Linked DNA regions of Homo sapiens: region 1 is linked to region 2. Evidence: promoter capture Hi-C in 16 types of primary human blood cells and fetal thymus (Javierre and others, 2016). All regions are on one chromosome and are shown on one strand. The core of a region is centred on a gene start or on the middle of the fragment in contact, and the rest is flanking DNA. Distances in the headings are between cores, read along the strand shown. Region 1 overlaps ZNF487 (zinc finger protein 487). Region 2 holds the start of RASGEF1A (RasGEF domain family member 1A).

Evidence for each region. The method cuts DNA at HindIII sites, captures the fragments that hold promoters and counts their contacts. A CHiCAGO score of 5 or more calls a contact.
Region 1: a contact is called between a fragment that was not itself captured here and the fragment with the promoter of RASGEF1A in region 2, in 2 of 17 cell types (neutrophils and erythroblasts). The highest score is 6.5, in neutrophils.

The regions. Positions count from the first base shown.
Region 1 is chr10:43,473,989-43,476,688 of GRCh38, reverse strand. It overlaps ZNF487 (zinc finger protein 487), which reads right to left. Exons shown (of 4, transcript NM_001355444.3): 2 at 842-968; 3 at 487-582. The coding sequence starts at 875. Among named protein-coding and RNA genes, the nearest start is that of ZNF487, 38 kb to the right of the region's middle. The HindIII fragment of the contact is 1,222 bases long and covers 729-1,950 here.
Region 2 is chr10:43,265,668-43,268,367 of GRCh38, reverse strand. RASGEF1A (RasGEF domain family member 1A) reads left to right here and starts at 1,303. Exons shown (of 13, transcript NM_145313.4): 1 at 1,303-1,523. RefSeq lists an enhancer at 1,798-2,673. The HindIII fragment of the contact is 10,296 bases long and covers 1-2,700 here.

The DNA of each region.
Region 1 (2,700 bases), core at 90-2,589, 210 kb before region 2:
TTCAAATCTGTGTTTATTAAACTACTGACTTCAAAAAGGCCCTTGCATAAAGCACACACTACATCTCATTCTCTTCTACCAACATAACACAGCCATGGTGTTAGAGCTATATCTCTAACACAGATGGAAATGCCAACATCGTAGCTGCCAAATTAATACATATTGAATAAATACATAATATATGATGAAAAGAAGATAACTGAAATTGATATAGAAGGAAGAGTCAAATGACATTCATTTGACTAAACTGAGAGAGGCAAGGATTAAGTTTTGGAAAAAAACAAAGACCATTTAGCTGTTATCTGCTAGTGTGTAATAACATATACATCTGAGGCAAGCAGGCCAACTCTTCTTAGTCACTTCCAAAGTTCTGGTAACTCTAAAAACATATCTCTGAAAAATTTCAAAGATGTCAATATGTGAAGTATCTCCCTAGGATCAAATTTCTCCCTGGGATTATAGCTTCCTATATATTTATTAACTCACCTAGGTGGCTCTGACTTGGGGACTCTTCCTCTAATATCCACAGCACCTGTCCATGCTCCAACTTGCAAACCACCTCTGGTTTGGTAATGCAATATCCTGTGAATGAAAATGACACAGGACGTGGGCCAGATAGCCTGCGGAGGACAAAGGTGTGCCTGCACAAAAATAGGTCCACTTGAGCATTTCATTACAGAAAACACCACAGATATTCTTTACAGTGCCCAGAAGGGATCAATCAAGCTTCAACTCCTGAGTCTCAAGCCTTTAACTCATATTCATACAAAGAAACCATCTGTAATCAGCAGCTAAAAAGGAAATAAATGTTATTTGAAGCTGCAAATTACATAATCCTTACCCACTGAGAGGAGGAGGCTGTAGTTCTCCAGCATCATGTCTCTGTACGGGGTCCTCTGAGCAGAGTCCAGATGCTGCCACTCCTCCTGGGTGAAGCCCACAGCCACATCACTGAAGGACACTGATCCCTAGAACAGTACATTTGTTTTCATTCTACAGTGATCAGAAGTGGAGAGCATACAACATGTGTGAGATCTAACACCTTGTCATGTTCACTGTTGATAGTTGAAGAGAAAATGCTACATAGGATGCCTACTATTGATATTATACATTGTAGGAAAATGAGAAATCCTGGTATGAGGACTCTGCCGGTATATTAATTTTTTTTTTTTTTCAGACGGGGTCTTGCGCTATCACTCAGGCTAGAGTGCTGTGGCATGATCACAACTCACTGCAACCTTGACCACTGGGGCACAAGCGATTCTGCCACCTCAGCCTCCCAAGTAGCTGGGACAACAGGCACGCACCACCACACCCAGCTAATTGTTTATTTGTAGAGACAAGGTCTCACCATGTTGCCCAGGCTGGTCTTGAACTCCAGGCTCAAGCGATCCTCCTGCCCTGGCCTCCCAAAGTGCTGGGATTACAGATGTGAACCACTAGGCCCGGCCTACTTTCTTAATTCATACAAAAATTATACGAGGTCCTGCTAGTGATAGACGCAGGAGGCAGATAAGGGAGGGTCCCCGGAGAATCTCCAACCAACCCCACAAGTGTTTACATCAGATGCTTTTCTGCAGATAAGGGAATCTGCCCAGGGTCTTGTCTGCACATGCCTGCAACAGACTGGGGACCCACCTGCACACTGGGAGAATGAGGTGGAGGCAGGGGAAGTTTGCGCCTTGTACAGGGGGGAGGAGCCTGGCCTCTTAAGATACTGTGTGGTGGCCTGGTATTCAATCTGTGAGGTGGCAGTCTTTTAGTAGAATTGATATTTTTTAAAAAATTGATTAAAAAAAAAACCTAGGCTGAGTGTGGTGGCTCATGCCTATAATCCCAGCACTTTGGGTGGCCAAGGCAGGCAGATCACTTGAGGTCAGAAGTTCAAGACCAGCCTGGCCAATGTGGTGAAACCCTGTCTCTATTAAAAATACAAAAATTAGTCAAGCTTGGTGGTGCGCACCTGTAATTCCGGCTACTGGGGAGGCTGAGACAGGAGAATCACTTGAACCTGGGAGGTGGAGGTTGCAGTGAGCCAAGATCACGCCACTTCACTCCAGCCTGGGTGACAGAGCTAGACTCTGTCTCAAAAAATAAATAATAAATCATTTTTCCTTTTAGAGGCCAGGTCTTGCTGTTTTGCCCATGCTGGAGTACATTCACAGGCATGATCATTGCACACTACAGCCTCAAATTCCTGGGTTCAAGCAATACTCCTGCCTCAGCCTCCCAAGTACATGGGGCTCCAGGCATGTCACCCAGGCTGTAGTGCAATGGCACGATCTCAGCTCACCGCAACCTCCACCTCCCAGGTTCAAGCAATTCTCCTGCTTCAGCCTCCTGAGTAGCTGGGGTTACAGGGGCGCACCACCACGCCTGGCTCATTTTTGTATTTTTAGTAGAGACAGGGTTTCATCATGTTGGTCAGGCTCATCTCAAACTCCTGACCTCGGCCCACCTCAGCCTCCCAAAGTGCTAGGATTACAGGCTTGAGCCACACCGCACCCAGCCCCTGCTTTTTTTTTTTTGAAACACGGTCTTGTTCTGTCACCCAGGCTGGAATGCAGTGGCACAAACACAGCTCACTGCAGCTTTGACCTCCTGGGCTCAAGCAATCTTCTTACCTCAGCCTCCTGAGTAGCTAGGACTACAGATGCATACCACCATCCCCAGTTAATTTTTTTGCCTTTTCACAGAGAC
Region 2 (2,700 bases), core at 54-2,553:
CTTAAAAAATAAAAAAGAATCCCCCACCCTACAAGCTCCCCTCCCCCTCCCTTCGCTGGCTCCCTCTCCCTGCTGGGCCTCTCTGTGGGATCTGCAGCATCTGACACATGAACTATTTATGTGTATTTTTATTCACTGCCTACTTCCCACAAGAATGCAAACTCCAACCAGACAGAGACATTCACAGCCGAATCCCAGTGCCCCATCTTACACCTGGCATACAGGTGTTCAAGACACAAGGACTAAGTGAGTAAGCAAGGTCCTCAGCCTCTTCAAGGGGTGCTGTGGGGCTCCTCCCCATTTTTTCACACAGACCCCTCCACCTGGGGACATCGTCGCCCCAGACCTGTTTCTCACTGGCCCTCGTCTGACTGCCTGCAAGAGTCACTCTGGGCCACCCTGGGGTCAGGCCACAGGGTGTCCGTTCAAGAGAAGGTGACCCTTCAGAGCGACAGGAAGTTCCAGTGGACGCCAGAAGACCTGTGTCCTGCTTTAGTGGTTCTGAAATCTTTCAAGGTGGCTTTGGAGCCTTGCTCTGCCACTTATAGGCTCTGAGACCCTGCAGGGTAACCGCACTCCCTGTGCATCAGTTTACTAACCTGTCCAATGGGAACAAATCCACCACCGACCTTACAGGGCGATTAAGATGGTTAAGGGGAGTGACCCAAGGGGCCAGGACTTGCCCACAGAAGGGCTTTCACCGTCTGATTCCACTGACAAAAATTTTGCCAGCTCTGCGGGAGTCCCCAGAGGGCCTTTTAAATGCGGTGGCCGCATCGCCTCCTAGCTTGTCTGCTGCCTGATCCTTTTTTTTTTTTTTTTTTTTTTTTTTTTGAGACGGAGTCTCACTCTGTTACCCAGGCTGGAGTGCAGTGGCGCGATCTCGGCTCACTGCAAGCTCCACCTCCCGAGTTTACACCATTCTCCTCCCTCAGCCTCCCGAGTAGCTGGGACTACAGGCGCCCGCCACCACGCCCGGCTAATTTTTTTTTTTGTATTTTTAGTAGAGATGGGGTTTCACCGTGTTAGCCGGGATGGTCTCGATCTCCTGACCTCGTGATCCGCCCGTCTCGGCCTCCCAAAGTGCTGGGATTACAGGCGTGATGCCTTATCCTTTTTAAATGAAAGCCTGGCCGCCCTCTCCCGGCGCCCGCCCTGTCCCAGTGCCCTCTGCTCGAGCCCCGTCCCGCGCCCTACCTCCCCCTGCACCTTTGCCCCGCACCCTCCTCCCTCCGCGTCCCGCGCCCGCCCGCTCCCCCGCTCCCCGCGCTCTCGCGCCCGCTCCGTGCCCGCTCGGCGCTCGCTCCGCGCTCGCTCGTTCGCTCGCTCGCTCGCGCTCCCCGGCGCCGGCTGCGGAGGGAGCTGCTCTGCCCGCAGCTGGCGCAGCGCGGGGGCGGCCGCGGGTGGGCGGGTGCCGCGGGCCCGGGCGCCGAGCATGAGCCGCCGCCGGCGCCGGCCGCGCGCTGCTCGGGGCCCGACTGCGGCGCGAGGGCGGCGCGGGAGCGACGCTGGCCCGGACCGAGGTAGGCAGCGGCCGCGGACCCTCAGTGCCTCGGGGCCCCCGCCCGCGCCTGGGGCCGTGCCCTCCGGTCGCCGGCGCGGGCAGGGCGCGGCGTGCGCGGGCCCGGGGTCCCTCCCGGCGCGGCCGTCGTGGGGCCGGGGCGCGGGCTCCGGGCGCGGGGCGGGGGACGCGCGCGGGGAGGGCGGCCGGGATCCCGGCGCGCGGAGTTGCTGAGAACTCCGCCCCGGGCTGGACGGCGCCAGGACCCCCTGCACCCTCCGCCCCTTCAGGGCACCTGGCGGGCCGGGCCGGGCCGGGCCGGGCGTGGCAGGAGCGCACGCGGCGGGCGGGCGTGGGCACTGCGGGCAGGTTCGCTGCCCGGGGCCTGGCGTGGGGGTGGGGGCTGGGGAATCGGAGGAGCTCAGGGCTGCGCAGTTGGAAGTTTCCATTTGCTCTTCTGCATTCTGGGCCCCGCCGTGGTATCTCACGCCCTTGCTGTTTGGCGAGGAATTGGGGCTTGAGCTCTGCATTTGGGGGAGAGGTCCAGGGCCATGCCAGGTGTCTCCCTCTCCCTGCTGGGCAAGGGTCATTTGAAGGACCACGCTCTCTTTGCCCCAGGCCTTGCCGGCCCCAGGAACGGGGCAGGTGCAGCTGGTTCTGGTCCGAGGGTCGGTGAGTGAGAGGTGGGGGCGGGAGTCCCCTGCTGTGTGTGGAGGGACGCGCTGGCAGGTTCCTGTGCCCTGCATTTCTGGCTGCCTCTGGGTGCTGGACCTGGTGGATATTTACAGAGAGGCCGCTGCCTGCCTCTTGGGAGCCACCTGGGGGCAGAGACCTGGTGGTGGCCGGGGCTCCCTCCCTCCCTGCTCAGAGCAGTGAGCTTCTCCCTGGTTCACCCTCCCCACCACTGCCACTCTTCTCCCACTGTCCTGCGCAGGAAGGGCCCCGATGGCCGTCGGCCGCAGGATCCTGAAACACAGGAGTCAGGCTGGGTGCAGGGGAGCCTCCCAGAGGCCTTGGTTCCCTCTGTCCCCCCAGGGTTCTCCCGCCCCCTCCGGATGCAGTCTTGCCAGCCCAGCCTGTCCACCTCGGTGCCCTGGACTCTAAGCGGCTCTAGGGGGCCTCCAGCCGAAAGGCTACAGGTCTTGATTCGTGAACCACGGGCAGGCTGCAGGCTTCTGAGACTCAGTTTCCCCATCTGT